Regions from separate parts of the Homo sapiens genome. Here regions 2, 3, 4, 5 and 6 are each linked to region 1. The links are contacts of gene promoters, found by promoter capture Hi-C in blood cells and fetal thymus (Javierre and others, 2016). All regions are on one chromosome and are shown on one strand. Each heading gives the region's core, a stretch centred on a gene start or on the middle of the fragment in contact. The rest is flanking DNA. Distances are from core to core; before and after follow the strand shown.

Region 1 (2,739 bases), core at 78-2,577:
AATCAAAGAAACTTCTCCCTGAACCAGTATTTTTAGAAGAAAAAAACATAAAGATGTAAATTTTGTTTGGTAAGAACTAGTTTCTATGAATCATCTAATGAATTAGTACTTCAATGACTTGCCAATATTTGTCCTTAACTCCCTTTCATAGGTTGGAGAAAGTATGGCTAACATAGATAATTTTACTGAGGTCAATTATGAATAATGAGGGTTGTTCATCTCTTCTACCCACGATTAAGATAAAGAAATGCCTAGAGAAAGACAGTCCTTTCAAGGACTTTGAAACGAGCAGCTTTTAGCCAAGACATACTAACGTGATGGCGCATTTCCTTGCATCAGTATTGTGTTATAACAGACTTGGCCATCTTATCAGAAAGCAAAAAGTATATAGCAAAACTTTACTTTTGTAAGTAAGGCATTGGGAAGAAACAGAAGATTCATTGACTGCATTTGTTTATATTGATTTTCTCAAAATCAGTTGTTTATTTTCAATGACGACGCCTCTACCGCCACCAGGTCAACAAAAACGTACTTGCTTTTGCATTTCCGGGACTCTAGCATTTCAGAGCAGGAATTAAAGGCCTTGCCAAGGCTTTTAAGCGATTGATGGAAACAAAACAAAACACAGAAGGATAAATTTTGAATTTGCTAAGACAAGAATTCGCACCAAGGCAGACATAAGACATGAGGATGTCTTCCTGACTTGCGTCCTTGGCTCGAATCGTTCTTATTAGCCCTTTTCAAAAGGCAGCTGTGACCTCCATTTCTGGCTAATCAGGCCACTTTTGTTCCCCCCGAGGCGTGGGAGGACAACAGTTAAGCCCTAACAGCCTGCGAAGCAGCTCCTCGACGAACGGCGGCGTCCCCGTCGCCTGGGCAGTGGGTGTGGGAGGTGACAGCCTAGTCCTGAGCCTCTGGAGCGGGCCTATACTGCACCGCCGTACGTGAATTTCAGGAGCGCGCAATGCCGCCACCTGGGAAGGGTGCAGCGAGGCTGACCTGAGTTTGCCCGCCGGGGTGGACGGCTCTCCGGGGCCCCCGGGGTCCCTGGGGCCCCTCCGTGCGCCGCCCCCTCCCGCGCAGCCCTGCACCCTGGCCCGTCGCGCCCGGTTCCGCGCCCTTCTAGGGGACCATGGCGACGGTACAGGCACGGACCTGCACCGCAAAACCCAAAGCAAAAGCAACTTGCCATGGCGGAGGGGAGACGCGCCCTCAGCGGCCGCAGAAAGCCCACAACCAGCGGAACGCAGGCGATGGGGAGAGGAGCGAGCAGGCAGGTTTTGGTTTCGTTTTTTGTTCCAGCTCCCTTGGAGGCTACGAAGAAAAGGGCGGTCCTTCCACCCGATCCGGCTGTTCTGCGACCTCGTGGCCTCTGAGTGGGAGCTCGGACTCAGGAGTGCTGTTGCCAGCGCCTGCCCAGACGCCCTCCGTAGTTTTGCAACTTGTGGAAGCACTCTGGAGAGAGGCCGAGAGGATTCCTCGACAGGAAATTTGGGAATTCTCTGGGTGATGCATCAGTGATTGCAATTTTGTTTTTACCCGTTTTGCTAAGCAGCAGCAACAACGGCAGAGTTGATTTAAAAAAAGAAAAAACGCAAAAAGGGAAAACACATAGTAGGTGGTGGCCGCTTCCTGTGTTGATACTGGGGGGCTACGCTTTTCCTAACATCAATCATCTCGTAGTTGCAGAGAGCCCTAGATGTCATGATAGTTTTGAATCGCATGCATTATCATGTAAGGGAGTTAAATATCTTGCATGCATGCTCTCTTCTGTGTTTATATATTCGATGCCATGAAATTGAAGGGCATGTGGCTAAAACCTTTTTACTACATGAAACTTTACAACACTTTTGAAAACATTTCAATTTGGTTGATGCGCACTGTAATATTTCTCCAGATAACTGTCCAAAATTTTCCATGGAGAAGGCTTTTATCCTCATTAGTTGCTGGCCTCAAACTAACCATCTAGGATATTAAACTTCTGCCAGAATTTTACATCCAGCTACCTTTACTTTTTAGAACGTATTCTCTATCATGTTATTGATATCAATTTCTACTTCACACAGATGGTTTTTTACAACAGCAAATCAAGTTTTTCTAACATCAGTTTTAAAAAGCCCTGCACTCAGTGAAATCTGGATGTCTTTCCTACGCCCTTATTATCTGTCCAGACTTCTTCCCCTTCCCCCACCGCTCACCTGGGCCTTTTCCTCTGCACAACCTACCCCAGTTCCCCAACCCCCACCTCAACCCCCAACGCCGTGTTGGTCACCTTCCCAGCCCAGACCAGGAGCCCTCTTGGACCTCTGCCGGGTGCTAAGGACACAGGATGAGAGCGCCAGGTCCCTGCCAGCAGAGAGCTCACCACCTTGTCCATGCCTTAGCACAGGAACCCCGAATGGCGCCTGTGGGGACACAGGGAATCTCTGGACAAACTTCAAAATCAAATCAATGAATGCATGAAGAACAAAGGTAGATGGCTAGCAGATATGAAGAAACCCAATCCCACTCCTAAGAAATGTAAATTGAAATAATAAGATACCATTTTTCACAACTAGATCTGCAAAACCAGAAAGTGTTAGCCTGAATGTAAGCATCAGAGTTGCTGCAAGCATAGATGGATGCAAATACTTCTAAAGATTTTTATCAAAATGTAAAGTGCAAAAAAATGTAAAATGCACATATTCTTAGTCTCAGCAATTCTACTTTTAGAACTGAACTTGAAGTTATAGTGCGCAA
Region 2 (2,719 bases), core at 33-2,532, 2.2 Mb before region 1:
GATGGCGGTTTACGTCTGTCTTATGTAAGGGAAATTTGAAGGTGGTACATCAGTAGTTAAGAATCTCCACAGTGAAAACAGAAACCTAGCCTCTTAACTAGGTTAAGCACGTGCCTGCCTCCTGAACTCAAGGCCAGCTCAAGGTCACCAAATGACTTCAGTTTCAGCCATCATGCCTACATTCCAACTTTAGCAACCAGAGAGGAAGCAGAGAAGAGGCAAAAGCAGCCGTCCTGAATGAATCTCCTTTAAGTAGCCTTCCTGAAGCCCCATGCAATGCTGATGCCTCCCTTTCCCTGGACAGCACTGAGCCACATGGCCACATCTAGCTGGAAAAGGTAGTCTTTTAGCTGGGCACATCACTACCCCAAAGAAAGGTAATGCTTTTAGAGCAAGGACAGGGAGAGTGGATGTTGAGGTGGGCAGCTGGCATACTGTGCATTATGGACCACCTAATATGCTGCAGCACTGGGCTAGATGTAATATAGGCATCACCTCATTTGATGAAAGCACACATAGAGGTGTATGTGTGTTTCCCAGCAAGGCCTTACTAAATATACTGGTCCAGGGATTCTGGGGTCCAGAGATTGTGCAGTGGGACAGTCACCTTCTTCATGGGTTCCAACAAAGGTCTGCCAGTCCCATATTTTATGTAGGCTCCAAACAACCAAATGCTGGCCATTCATCACCAGTGTAGCCTCTTCTCATACAGAAGAGTGAAAATCAGTAGGTCTGGGGAGACTTTCAAGACCTTCGGAGTGAAAGAACCACCCTCACCCATTGTGGCATTTTTTTTTAATTTTACTTTAAGTTCTGGGATACATGTGCTCAATGTCCAGGTTTGTCACATAAGTATACATGTGCCATGATGGTTTGCTGCACCCATCAACCCATCATCATCTTTTCGAGATGGAGTTTCACTCTTGTTGCCCAGGCTGGAGTGCAATGGCATGATCTTGGCTCACTGCATCCTCTGCCTCCTGGGTTCAAACGATTCTCCTGCCTCAGCCTCCCGAGTAGCTGGGATTACAGGCATGTGCCACCATGCCCAGCTAGTTTTTGTATTTTTAGTAGAGACAGGGTTTCACCATGTTGGCCAGGCTGGTCTTGAACTCCTAACTTCAAGTGATTCCCCCCACCTCAGCTTCCCAAAGTGCTGGGATTACAAGCGTGAGCTACTGCACCCAGCTGGCAATTTGTTTCTTTACTCAAAGTGTTACAAGTGGTTTTGATGGTTTTATCTGAATTCAGAGCCTCCTTGACATACCTTCTCCACACAGCTTCAGACACAGCTTCTGTAACTAGGTGCTTCTCTCACCAGGTTACAAAATAAACAGGCCCCCTCTTACAGCTCTCAGGATGGCAGTGTGGCTGAGGGGACTGGCATTGGACAAGGGACCTGGGTTCAGGTGTTAGGTCTTCCACTTCCTTCAAGTTACTTAAACTCAGGTCTGTTTCCTCATATATGAAATGGGGAAAATCTTTTATGTTGGTCATTGGCATTGACAGAAGGCTTAAATGAGGTCATGCTTCTAAGCCCATAACAATTGCTCAATAAAAATGTTAGCTGCTAGTATAGATGAGCACTGCAGAAGGTGGTAGTTGATACATGTTGGTTTATAGTGTCCTTTAATTCATATAGTTGTTACTAAATGGTTTTTAGTTCCTCTATAGCAATAAATCCTGGCGACTGGATAGGGAAGGCCTATTTCTAACTGAGTATCCTAGTTGTTGCTATGAACTGACATAAGGGCTTTTAAAGATAATATTGGCCGGGCATGGCGGGTCATGCCTGTAATCCCAGCACTTTGGGAAGCTGAGGTGGGCAGATCACTTTAGGTCAGGAGTTCAAGACCAGCCTGGCCAACATGGTGAAACATCCTTCCCTACTAAAAATAGAAAAATTAGCTGGGCGTAGACATGCACACCTGTAACCCTAGCTACTTGGGAGGTTGAAGTGGAGAATTGCTTGAACCCAGGAGGCAGAGGTTGCAGTGAGCCGAGATTGTGCCACTGCACTCCAGCCTAGGTGACAAAGTGAGAGCCTATCTAAAAAACATATATATATAATTTACTTATCTACAAGCTATGACTATTTTTAAGAAATGACTGGGCATTTGTCAGTGGAGATTAAAAAGGGGTAGTAATCAACAGATTCAGGAATTGCAATTGAAAAGTAAAGAAATGCTAAATCCTTTTTGAAAAGTAATTGAAAATATGGAATTCATTGCTTAGATGAGAGCAAAGCCTTTTTGAGACAGTCTTTCCTGACCTTTGGGATTTTCATTCTGAAGTATCTCTTCCCTGGGTAGAAATGATCTCAATTGTGTCTTCCCAGCCCTCCTGTGGAGTCAAAGCACATATTCTTACAGCTGGATATCTTTGGAATTTCCTTCTGCTTCATTTCAGGGTTCAAGAATTATAGCCATAATGAGTATTTTGGTTTATTCTCAAGGTTTCAGAGCCTATGAAGATGCCAATATACAAAAATCAAAAGAACCCAGGATAATGCTGGCTTTGATCTTATCTGGTTCAAATCCACAGGGGGCTGCCTCAGGAGGAGATGATCTTTTTCAAACCCCAGAGCTACATATGGGGCAGTGCAGTGCAACCATGTGACATTGGGCAAGTTACTTGATTTCTGTCAGCTTTAGGTTTCCTACCGGCTAAGTGGGATCAGGCATTGAGAGCCTAGCTCTGTACTTGGTTTCACAGTGAA
Region 3 (2,790 bases), core at 219-2,718, 2.2 Mb before region 1:
CTTGGAGGTTTAATATATAGTCACGGAAGTGTACTGAAATAGTCATAAGAAGGAATGTTCTCCATACAACTTTAAAGTTGTACAGTGCTTTCTGCAGTGAAATGAATTTTTTCACGGAATGGATTTTTTTAACGAGTCTTGAAATTAACATGTGAGGAGCAGCATGACACATTACCTCGTGTGTGTGTGTGTGTGTGTGTGTGTGTGTGTGTGTGTGTGTGAGTGAAGGCCATTTGTTAAATGGAACACCTAAAAATACCATTGTTTTTGTTTTTGCGGTTGTCAGGGGCCTCAATAAATGCAAGCTGGCTCAGGAGATGCTTGACCTCAGAGGTCTGGAAAGACAGATTAGAAGTCTCAGCAGAGGACCAAACCCAGACCCCACTTCTGCAGAAGTTCTGTACCCAGGTTTCCCCACTGCAGGCATAACCAGCAGCCCCTCAAAGGCCCCAGACCAGCCAACTGTCTTTAGAAATGCAGACCCAGGATCAGCTTTGCTACCAGCCATGGAATCTTGGGTCAGTGGCCCATACTCTGAGCTGTGTTTCCACAGTGCAAGGCTGGCCGGACAGTGTTTTATTTCAGAGTTCTCCTGTCTGTGGCATCTTCAGAAGTTAAAGATTTGCTTGACCACTATAAGGTGCCCTGGGAGTGTAGACCTCCCACATCCCAGCTGCCTGGCTGGCAGTGGGTGGGGAGTAAGCAGTAGAGAGAGGACAGGTGGCCCGGAATCTAACAGCTTGCCTCTGGATTCTCCCTAGTAAGCTTGGAATGATGCTGGAGCAGCTCTGGGCCGAGGGGACCAGTCTAACGCTGGACGCAAAAGACTGGGCGCCACCTAGTCTGTTCATCAGGTATTAAATGCCCTGAGTTTTCAAAGCTCTGGTGATTCAGTAGTGGACGGGTAAGGTTCCTGCCTCTCCTGGGGCTTACCGTCCAGGGGTGGGGAGGACGTCACTATATGAAATTATCTTATTTATAGCTTAATGTCATTATTTAAAAAGGGGGAGGGAATCACTTGACGGGTGGGCAAGGTGGGGACGGGGTTGGATGGAATGGTCAAAAAAGGTCTTTCAGAGTTCTTCCAATCCTGAACTAACTCACCTGCACCCTTGGCCCAATCATTTTCACTCCCGAGGGTCTGCACTCCTCGTTTCTACATTGGTTTTCTAGGAAGAAAGGGGTTGGACCCTCCCCTCTTTAAGCTGGGTGGGGTCCGAATCCCGTGCTTCTTTCACTTCCTGAGCCGGGCTGGCTGGGTGGGAACAGGCTCCTTGCCGCCTCCCCAGCGCTGGCCACTACCACACTGCCGCCCGCCTGGGCCTCCTTTCAACCTCGTGGTGGAGCCCTGCGGTTTCCCAGCGGAGCCGGGCCCGGGGCTGCTCCCTCGCGGGCGAGGCTCACCTGTCCCGGCCCGGCCCCCTCCCGCGCCCCAGGTGGTTCAGGGCAGGGAGGAGCCGCGCCCCGCCCCGCGCGGTAGCAGCCAACGCCGGCCCCAGGCGGGTGCGCTGGGAGCCTGGGCCGGGAGCCGGGTGAGGGCGCCGAGAGGCTCGGTGGGCGCGGGCGGCGAGGTGAGCTGGGCCAGCGCAGCAGGCGGGGGCGGTGGTGGGTTCGGGACGGCTCACCCCGCGCCGGAGCGAGTGCGGGGCCGCGCGACTGCGGCGGGAGATGCGCTGCGCCCCTTCTGGGCGCGCTGGGGCAGCCAGGAGCTCGCGGGGCCGCGGGGCCGCGGGGCCGCGGGGCCGCGGCGCAGTGGCGGGGTCGGGGTCTGGTCGCTGCCTCGAGGCGAGCAGCTGCCAACATCTGGACGGGACGGGAGCAGGGGGCCGGGGCAAGGCTGGAGCGGTGTGGGTCTCTAATCGTCCAGAGCCCTGCGGGGCCAGTGACTTCGGCAGAGCCGAGGGGAGAGGAGATACTGGGGGTCAAACTGCTGGAGAGAGCGCGGAGCTGGGGCTGGGGTTCAAGGCCGATCGTGGGGCCAAGAGCGAGCGTGCCAGCTCCAGTGTTTCCCCCTGCAGCGCTTCACGCGCGACCAGCTTGGGTGCCGCCGCTTCCCTTGCCCCGGCTCTTTACTTTTGTTGTTGAATAACCTACCTTACACATTGGTTAGTTACCTGGGGCTTCTCAAAAGCCGGGTCTGGAGGCTGCTCTGACTCCAGGGGGCTTGGGTTGTGAGGCTTCAGGTCTGTATGCCCTGTGGCGTTTGGGGGGAGCTGGTGGGTGGAGGGGTGCTGTCCACCTCCCAAGGCCAGGGGATCAGAGAGTGGGAAAAGTCTAGAATGCTATTTAAATTCCAGTAACTAGCTGTGTGACCTTGGGCAAGTTACTGAACTGCTCTGAGCCTCAGTTCCCTTAAAGTAAAATAGGTATTATTAATATTATAATCATTACAACAGACTTAGGTTATATGATGTTCATGGAGTACATAGCATACTGCTTGATTTTTCCCCCTTTGTGTTGATGTGGTGATGTGTGTGTTGTGGGGTGGGGGCATTCTTTCCCACCCTGACTTGTTCATGGTTAGGCTTCCTCCAGGATGCCTTACTTGCTGACAGCATCACAGAGGCCAAGATTAGGGCTGCCAGTGCACGGGCCCTGCAGATGGAGGGGGTGTTGTCAGACTGCCCTCATCATTACCCATCGTATTTGTCAGAATTGTTTTCTTTGGGTTGGGTTTTGGTCACTTGAAAATTGCCTTATACTATGTAGAAATTGATTGGGTCACATAAATGAAAAGGTCGAGGGTTTCAGTTTAAAGCTATAGCTAGTTCCAGAGGCTCATACAAGGTT
Region 4 (2,700 bases), core at 178-2,677, 2.7 Mb before region 1:
GAGATAATACATGGAAGAATGCTTTTAAAAGGGGAGAAGAAAGCACTAATATTGTAAGTGGTAGTATTTTTAAGTGCTATTAAGGATGATTATTTATTTCTTAATTGGAAGTTCATGTCTAAATTCTGTACCTAGACTTTTCCAGACTGAAGACTTGGGCATATCTTGCTAAAAGATGGGGGCAGAATGTGTTCAGCACCGGTAGAGGGGGTAGGTTTAGCTGAGCCTCTGTGAGGGTTTTAGCAGAGCCTCTGTGGGGTTTCCTGTCCTTCCAGCTCCCACTGCAGAACACTGTGTATGAGGAACACAGCCAGAAGGACTGGTGGCCTGAGGCTTTGGTCCCTGAACTGTGACCAGGTCCCCCTAGAACACAGCTTTCCCTGCCAAGTTAATCTTAAATAACTTTGGTGGTCAGGGAGATAACCTTAGGGAAAATCTCCTGTGACCTTTTACAGACTCTGTCTCCCTTTTCCAATCAAATCAGGATTATTTAGAATCGGTGGATTCCTTTGAATTCCTAAATAAGCATGGAGGTCAGGAGCTTGTGATTTCAGGCTAATTGTCACTGTTCTGGTTTATTTGGCAAAGTGGGAAGCAAACATTCACCAGAGCTGGGAGAAAAAAGCATGCAAGAATTGGAATGAAGAGATGCACTGGGCTGCTTCTGGACAAGCTGTCTGTCTAGGCAAGAGTCAGCAAAGGCAAGAAGAGACCATTTCCTTCTCCATTTCTCTTGGTTTCCTGGCTCTTCCCAAATGTCCAGGGGATCCTGAAGGGGGTGAAGGGTGGGGGTGGTAGGGGAAGTGTGTGCCTTGTGCCTTCTAAGGCAACCATGTTGGCCAAAAGAATCAAGCCATGACAATGGCCATTGTGAAGACCCCGCAGCTTTCTGAGCAGAGAACACAGCGAAAGAGCTGTGTGGTTCCTGTCTCAGAGCATAGCTTTCCTTTCTCTAAGGCAATGGTCTCCAAACTTTTCTTCAAGAATTCCTATCAGTAAAGTAAAAATAAAATTGAGGACATACTATGCATATATACATATGTGCATATGTACTTTATGTGTGCTACTGAATTAATATATCATATGTGTTATAAAACACACAAAATAGAAACTAGGTAACTGAGATGAACTGATAGGTTTATATTTTCCTCCCTCTTCCCAGTGGATTGCCTTGCATCATGGCCAGGGTGTGTGCATTCAACTTTGGCAGTCTTGGCCTGAGTGACAGAATACTGGAAGGTCCTAATAAGCTTCTCCAATGAGCATAGGCAGTGATGGAACCAAACCATCAAAATGAGCTCTTCAAAGAAGAACCCAGGTTTTCCTCTTCAGCTGCATATGATCAATTCTAATTAAATGGTAAAGGAAAGAAGAATAGAAGGAAAGAATTCTTGAAAATCTGGTAACTAACATGGAAGCTGTGCTTTATATCAGGTTATGTGAGTAATCTTGATCTGTCTACAAGCTCAAAGTTTCTATCCAAATATATTTATCTGGATCCGAGGCAGGATCACTGCCAGGCTCTGTCACCTGCTCAGGAGAGTCACCTACCCAGTATACAAGGGGATAACCACAGGGCACACCGAAGCCATTGCAGAACTTCCCAAGCTTGGGTCAGGCCTCCTGACTCTACACACGCACGTGTACTCCACCCATTCCCAGCCTCCCAGCTTTCTTGACAAGTACCCAAGGAGGATGGTTCTTGTCAACTCATTGATAAGGTCATGGTATTGTGGAGCAGGAGCTAACCTGTGTTCTATTTTCAGCTCTCTTGTTAGCTGTGTGAGCTTGGGCAAGTGCCTCACCTTCTCTGAACCTGAGTTTTTGCATCTGTTTAGGCCATGATATTACCCTGCCTACCCCACAGTGTTATCACGAAATTCACATGAACACACATATGAAGGTGCTTTGCAAACACTGTACAAGTGAAATTGTAAGGTATCCTGACTCATGTGCTAAGGCCTTTTCAAGGCACAAGGACAAATGTTTCCCAGGGATCCTATAGTTAGCCACTCTGAGGCATTTTCCCTTAGGAGCCCAGCCCTGAGGGAAACTGGCTCATGGCAGATTTTTAATCCGAACCCAGAGCTCTGGAGGCTTTATAATCCTAAAGACTAAACCAGGTGAACAACAAAAACATCCATAAAGCAATTTGGGTAAATTTCCATGCTTCCAGGTAATGCCTAGGTTTCTAAGGGGTTGCATTTGTTTGTTCAGTCATTCAAGAATTTATAGATCATCTTAACTCTGAGATAAAGTGAAAAAAAGAGCTCATGTTCCAGCAGATGAGAAAGACATGGAAACAGTCATTGCAAGACACTGACAGGAGCCACAAACCAGGTATGCATTACAATGGGCTTTGGAACACTGGGAGGCTTAAATAAATCGAGTTAAGTGACTTATGAAAGAATAGGAGTTCAGGCATGGCCAGCAGGGGCAAAAGACATTCAAGAAAGAGGAAAAGAAGTGCAGAGATCAGGAGTGGGGCTGAGGGGTAAGGAGGGGTAGAGAACAGCATGATTTTCTGGGAACTGTAAGGGATTTAATAAGTCTTGAATGTAACATAAGGAAGAAGAGGGGTAGACAGTAAGCATAGAAAGTAAGCAGAAGCCAGATCATGGTGGAAGTGGGGTGGCAGCAGGTCTCCCAAGCCAGTAGAAAGTGGAAAAGGGCAGGTGCTCTGCCCTCAAACCCACCCCA
Region 5 (2,700 bases), core at 198-2,697, 2.7 Mb before region 1:
GCAAAGTCTCTTCCTGCTCTGGCCTTCGGTCACCTGGTTTCTCCCGGTACCAGCTTCTTGGGATTCCCTCCAAAGATATTCTACTTAAGCTCATGACAATACTGTACAGTATTTATGTTTCTGATATCGCCATGAAATTCTGTATTTTCTATATACAACAATGAAAATTATTGGCTGTGCGCAGTGGCTCACACCTGTAATCCCAATACTTTGGGAAGCCTAGGCGAGCAGATCACTTGAGGCCAGGAGTTTCAGACCACCCTGGGTAACATGGTGAAACCCCATCTCTACTAAAAATACACACACACACACAAAAATTAGCTGGGTGTGGTTGCGCATACCTGTAATTCCAGCAACCAGAGAGGCTGTGGCACAAGAATCGCCTGATCCCAGGAGGCGGAGGTTGCAGTGAACTGAGATCATGCCACTGCACACCAGCCTGGGCAAGAGAGTGAGACATTGTGTCAAAAAAGAAAAAAAAAGGAAAATTCTTTGAAAAAGTTTGGACTATTTTTCAACACAATTTTAGTATTATCTCACATAAGTTGTCTCTGTGGCAGCTTTAAAACATGGCCATAAATCTTCCTGAACATTCCTTCCATAGAGAGGATAGCTTTGTGCTTTTTTCCCCATGATCTGGGTGAGGTTTTGACTGCTTCCATCATTGCAACAGGGGAGAAGCAACCCTATGTGACTTCCAGGTAAGGTCATAAAAGGCCGTGAGACCTCCACCCTGTCTCAGGAATACTCACTCTTGGAGTCCTGAACTGCGGCGTGAGAAGTCCCACTCCCCTAGCCTGACCACACTGGAGAGGCCACACACATGCACAGGTGACACTCCCAGCAGAGCTGTTCATTGGCGGTAGCTGGATTTGGGGGTGAAGAAGCAGTCTTGAATGGTTACCTGTGACTCAAGAGAGGACTTTTGCAATTTGATTGGAAAGCTTAGCAAAAACTTAGTAATTAATATTTGGAAGACTAAGCAATGAAAAAATGAGGTAATTAGTAATTCCAAGAAAACCAAAGTTGACCCATAAAAGAATAACAGCCTATATGGTTCAGCTGTGAGTACTTATAGTAATGCTAGCACAGTACATTGATTTAGCCAAAAATGGTGCTGTAACGATGTTGGGAGGGTGGGTGGAGGGGAAATATGCACAAGGAGGGTGCAGGAAGGCAATAAGTGTCTAAAATTGAAGAACCTAAAAATAGCTGTATTATTTGGAAGTACAGATATAAATTACAGAAGAAACAGATGGGCGATACTGAAGCAGGTGTGTGTGCCAATGGGAACGATACAGTAGCAAGGGAGACGCTGATGGGAGGGACTGAATGGATGATAGGAGGCCACTTGGACACAGCTGAGCAGACAGGGAAGGGGCAGAGGAGGCCAGCAAGTGTGGCTGTGCTTGTAGGTTTCTAGGTGGGGAAATGTGAGCATTTCCATCGGACAGCATCTCTTTCCTCAGTGAAACGAGGAGAGTTCATCAGCTGAGACTAAAAAGCAGGGAAGGGCAGTGGGAGTTTTAAGGATAAAAAAGGAATGAAAAAGTACCCTAGAAGAATACGAATGCTGGTTTTAACAGAGAAACACAGCAATATTGCTTAGTAGCTCCAAGTACCCCTTTGAGGTCTGCGATGAACTGAAAGTGAAAGCAGCCTGCTTGCTTGACTTTTCCATAGTAATGTCGAGCTGCTTGAGTGGAGAGATACATGGGTGGGCTCACTTAGTATTTTGTAGGAGACTCCGTGGAAAGGCAAGGGGATTCTGAGGATGAGAGTTTTGGAAGGAAGTTGTTTATGGTGATGAACCATAAGCCCTAAGCTGGACACGAGGAGTGAACAGAAAGGTGACTGACAAATTGTAAAAGGCGGTGGAGCCAACAGAAAAGAGATCTCAACAGAGTTGAAGAATTGTCACAGTAGACGCTCAAGTATGTGTCAAGGACAGAAAGCTTATGAGAGAGTGGGGCTTTGGGCTTGCAGCAGCAGAACAGTTTCTGGTGGTGACAAGGTTCAGGCTATGACCTTGAGGTGGAGTGGAGGGAGAAAACGTCATTCGAGATGAGAAGGTCCAGGAAACTGAGAAGCCAGGCTGCTAGATGGGACATTGTATGGTTACTTTAATGAGATTGTCAAGAAAGGCTATGCAGAGAAAAAGATGGGGAGCCAGGAGGTGCAGTCCAGTGAATGAGTGAATGGATCACATGGAAGAAAAGAAAAGACATGTGATCGCGTGGTATAGTCAGGAAGCCAGAGCTTTTAATGGGTAGGACATTTTGTAAAAGGTAACAGAGGTTAAGTTCCAGGAGCAACAGTAGAGAACAAGCAGGCACCAACACTCCTTCCAGGCCCTAAGGTTTGTAAGATATCAGACTGTAAGATATCAGACAGGCTCTGCCAGAAACAGCTGTGTGAATGTTGTACTCTTGGGACCAGCCAGGCTCCAATTAAGGCAAGGAAGAAAGAGGGAGGCTCTGATGTAGGCTGAGGACAGGCAAAATTGAGAGTCAAGGATTGGGGCTTCCAGAAGGCACAGTGGAAATGTTAGGGAGGAAATGAAGAGAATGGGTGGGAAACTGGATCAAATCAGGTGACGAGCACAGCAGGAAGGGGATGCAAGTCCAGGTGATAGTGGATGACTGGAGAGGTCTGCTCCTCTGGGGATAGCAGAGGAAAATGAACATCAGCTCTTGCCAC
Region 6 (2,855 bases), core at 33-2,532, 2.6 Mb before region 1:
CATGGTCATTTAAGGCGTGTGGGCCTGCCCTTAATTGGGCATTTAGAAGAGCTGCACTTCAGGCAATTGTAATAGTGCACAATTTTGAGCTCTCAGCAGGACAGTTTATCAGGAGACAGTTGAGAGAAAAAGAATCTTCAGGCAGGATTGCCTGGGGGCCGTAGGGTCCATTCATACTCCCAGATCTGTATGGGGTGGGGCTCATGGCTTCAGACATCCAGCTCCATTCTAACCTCTGCAGAATTGGTTGTGCTGGATTGCGTATAATGCCGTCAGTGTATATGGAGGGTCACTATAAGAAACAGCCCTTAGATGCCCCTTTTGTATCTATTGTAAGATTACTGTTGAAATATCTGTTATATCACCTAGTTGCTCTATTTATAAAGACTCTTGGACATTGCAATGAGTACCAGGAACAACTGTAACTCTCCTGAGCAGTCATTTTATCTAATGGATATTGTGAGCTGTGAAGCTGACAAAGTTTCCTAATTTCGTGTTACTAGGAAATTTAGAACCCAAATGCTATCCTAGCATATTTTAGCAACTCTTAAAAGCCACTTGAAATCCTTTCTGAAACAAGGTGAGAGGTATGGGTGAGTCAGTAAATTTCTAAGTAATTAGTGTGTTTTATTTCAGTGGTCTCTGTTTCTTTCCCTGCCAAAGTCACCTTTAATAGCTGAGGAAAGACAAGTAAATCTGTCTTCTAATTTGGAGAAAACAAAGTGGCTTTCCTTTCTACCTCCTAACAAGTCACTGTGGAATTTAAGGGGCTCTCAGTATGCTACTATCAGAACCTTTTTCTTAGGAAACAGGTTATTTTGTTCTAGGGGACAACAAAAGATCAGATCAGTAAGGCATGGCTGTTAATAAATCAATTCACCGATTTTCTTCAATTCAGGATTCCAGCTGCATACGCCATTCACAAATCTGTGGTTATAAACATTTAATCTTTTGTTGGTGGTAGAGATTTAAAAAAATAGGTGAGAGGAACCATGTTTAGACGAGCAACCCAAGTTTCCTAACAATGGACTCCTCTTAGCTAACACTTGGACCCCAGTGAGCTTGGTGCTCTGAGCCTGCTTGTTGTCTGAGATGGGCCAGCAAAGTCAGTGAGACTGAACTGCCTTCACAGGGATTGAAACAACCTTCCAAGTTACCTTTCAGAGGTGCCTCAGGAGAACAGGATGCACCAATGGAGACAGAAACTGTGAAGAATATACATTTCAGGAGCCCTAAACCAACAGTGGGTGTGCATCTGTAGCCCCCAAAGCCCCAGGATCTCCACTCCAACACCCTTATGAAAATAATATGAATCATCCAGCTAGTTCCATGAATGTAATAGTGTCTTCAGCTGAATGACAGCTGTGCTGAATTTAGAGTGGGTTTCCTCCAAGTGTGGAATTTCTCAAGGGCAAGGTAGCTGGATTGGAAAGGATCCTATTTTTTAACCTCCCGTGGCCTTGCTCCAACAATTGTATTTCTGTTCCAAACTCGGTCATTTTTAAAACCTCACTATCATCCAATTTTATTAAAATAAGTACTTATTTTTAAAAATAATTATTTTACTTATTTTATTAAAACAAGTAGGCTCATATTCATCAGCTCAATGGAACCTAGTGCCTCTCAAAAATCCAAAGTCCAGGCCAGGTACGGTGGCTCACTCCTGTAATCCCAGCACTTTGGGAGGCTGAGGCAGGCAGATCATGAGGTCAGGAGTTCAAGACCAGCCTGACCAACATGGCAAAACCCTGTCTCTACTAAAAATACAAAAATTAGCCAGGCGTGGTGGCATGTGCCTGTAATCTCAGCTACTCAGGAGGCTGAGGCAGGAGAATTGCTTGAACCCAGGAAGCAGAGGTTGCAGTGAGCCAAGATTGCACCACTGCACTCCAGCCTGGGTGACAGAGACTCCATCTCAAAAAAAAAAAAAAAAAAAAGAAAGAAAAAAAAAATCCTGAAATTACATCTACATAGCTTGCTTGCTGTTTGGACACACATAACTGTCCAAGTCAGATTTGTTAGCTTCATCACAAGAGCTTTACTTATTTCTCTTATCCCCATCCAAAAGCCTGAGTGAGCAGCGTCAATCTATTCCAAATGTGGAGCACTGGTTGTGTTTTACGGTCCGGGTGGGGCAACAAATGAGACAGGCTGTCAGTGCAATTCAAAATTGGGTGTTGTGGACCCTCTGGAGCTGTGTGTTTTCAAATCTGTTTCTTTTTTTTTTAGTTACCAAAATGCAGAGCTTTCAGGCTGATTATTTTGGAGTCTATTTGGATCCTTTGTGGAGCTGGGAAGTAAATCGTCAGCTTATACACAAGGTGGCACCCTGTGATTCCAACCAGGTCTGAGAGGAGCGATGCTGCTAAGAAACTGAGCCACAGTCACAAATTTTTATTTACCATCTGCTATTCCCACGGTGGCAAATGCAGAGGTAGAAGTAGATGTTTGGCAGGTCACCTCTCAGTGTAGTCTCTGTCCCTATGTCTCAAAGATGCAGAGCTGCCTCAGAAAAGGGCACTGGAACCACAGAACTGATTCCAGTTGATTGTAATGAATGCAGACCCCACATTCAGATTACATATGGAAAACAACGAAGCTTTATTAGTACTAGGCTCATTCCTGGGAACATAAGGGGGAGGGGTGGAGATGCAGTTCACATACTAACCCAATTAACTTTCAAATGGTTTTGCTGAAACCAGGAGCCAATTAGAAAGAACGTGACATTTGCAAAACTCTGAAATAGTTGAATAGCAACTGTGTTTACTAGTTTTAAGATTCCTTTCAAAAAGTAATTTGTCCATTATTTGGAAGCTGCCTGCCTTGATTATAGTACTGGGAGATGGACACTGGAA

What was found. The method cuts DNA at HindIII sites, captures the fragments that hold promoters and counts their contacts. A CHiCAGO score of 5 or more calls a contact.
Region 2: a contact is called between a fragment that was not itself captured here and the fragment with the promoter of RBM43 in region 1, in 3 of 17 cell types (total CD4 T cells, activated CD4 T cells and naive CD8 T cells). The highest score is 9.3, in total CD4 T cells.
Region 3: a contact is called between the fragment with the promoter of LYPD6B here and the fragment with the promoter of RBM43 in region 1, in 1 of 17 cell types (M2 macrophages). The highest score is 5.4, in M2 macrophages.
Region 4: a fragment that was not itself captured here is called in contact with the fragment with the promoter of RBM43 in region 1 in 1 of 17 cell types (total CD4 T cells); the score reaches 5.6 in total CD4 T cells.
Region 5: a fragment that was not itself captured here is called in contact with the fragment with the promoter of RBM43 in region 1 in 1 of 17 cell types (non-activated CD4 T cells); the score reaches 6.8 in non-activated CD4 T cells.
Region 6: a contact is called between a fragment that was not itself captured here and the fragment with the promoter of RBM43 in region 1, in 1 of 17 cell types (total CD4 T cells). The highest score is 8.7, in total CD4 T cells.

The regions. Positions count from the first base shown.
Region 1 is chr2:151,260,536-151,263,274 of GRCh38, forward strand. It overlaps RBM43 (RNA binding motif protein 43), which reads right to left and starts at 1,328. Exons shown (of 4, transcript NM_198557.3): 1 at 1,190-1,328. The coding sequence starts at 1,192. RefSeq lists a silencer at 872-1,141 and an enhancer at 1,182-1,411. The HindIII fragment of the contact is 8,034 bases long and covers 1-2,739 here.
Region 2 is chr2:149,013,136-149,015,854 of GRCh38, forward strand. The region is part of intron 25 of KIF5C (kinesin family member 5C); the gene reads left to right. Among named protein-coding and RNA genes, the nearest start is that of LYPD6B, 24 kb to the right of the region's middle. The HindIII fragment of the contact is 4,420 bases long and covers 1-2,719 here.
Region 3 is chr2:149,037,231-149,040,020 of GRCh38, forward strand. LYPD6B (LY6/PLAUR domain containing 6B) reads left to right here and starts at 1,469. Exons shown (of 7, transcript NM_177964.5): 1 at 1,469-1,571. RefSeq lists enhancers at 539-598, 1,812-1,861, 1,902-1,961 and silencers at 1,222-1,561, 1,572-1,731. The HindIII fragment of the contact is 3,848 bases long and covers 764-2,790 here.
Region 4 is chr2:148,521,119-148,523,818 of GRCh38, forward strand. LOC124907896 (a long non-coding RNA gene) reads left to right here. Exons shown (of 2, transcript XR_007087259.1): 2 at 589-2,700. Among named protein-coding and RNA genes, the nearest start is that of EPC2, 120 kb to the right of the region's middle. RefSeq lists an enhancer at 2,076-2,613. The HindIII fragment of the contact is 358 bases long and covers 1,249-1,606 here.
Region 5 is chr2:148,551,510-148,554,209 of GRCh38, forward strand. No RefSeq gene overlaps it. Among named protein-coding and RNA genes, the nearest start is that of EPC2, 92 kb to the right of the region's middle. RefSeq lists an enhancer at 2,293-2,700. The HindIII fragment of the contact is 1,011 bases long and covers 943-1,953 here.
Region 6 is chr2:148,638,647-148,641,501 of GRCh38, forward strand. No RefSeq gene overlaps it. Among named protein-coding and RNA genes, the nearest start is that of EPC2, 4.7 kb to the right of the region's middle. The HindIII fragment of the contact is 2,630 bases long and covers 1-2,597 here.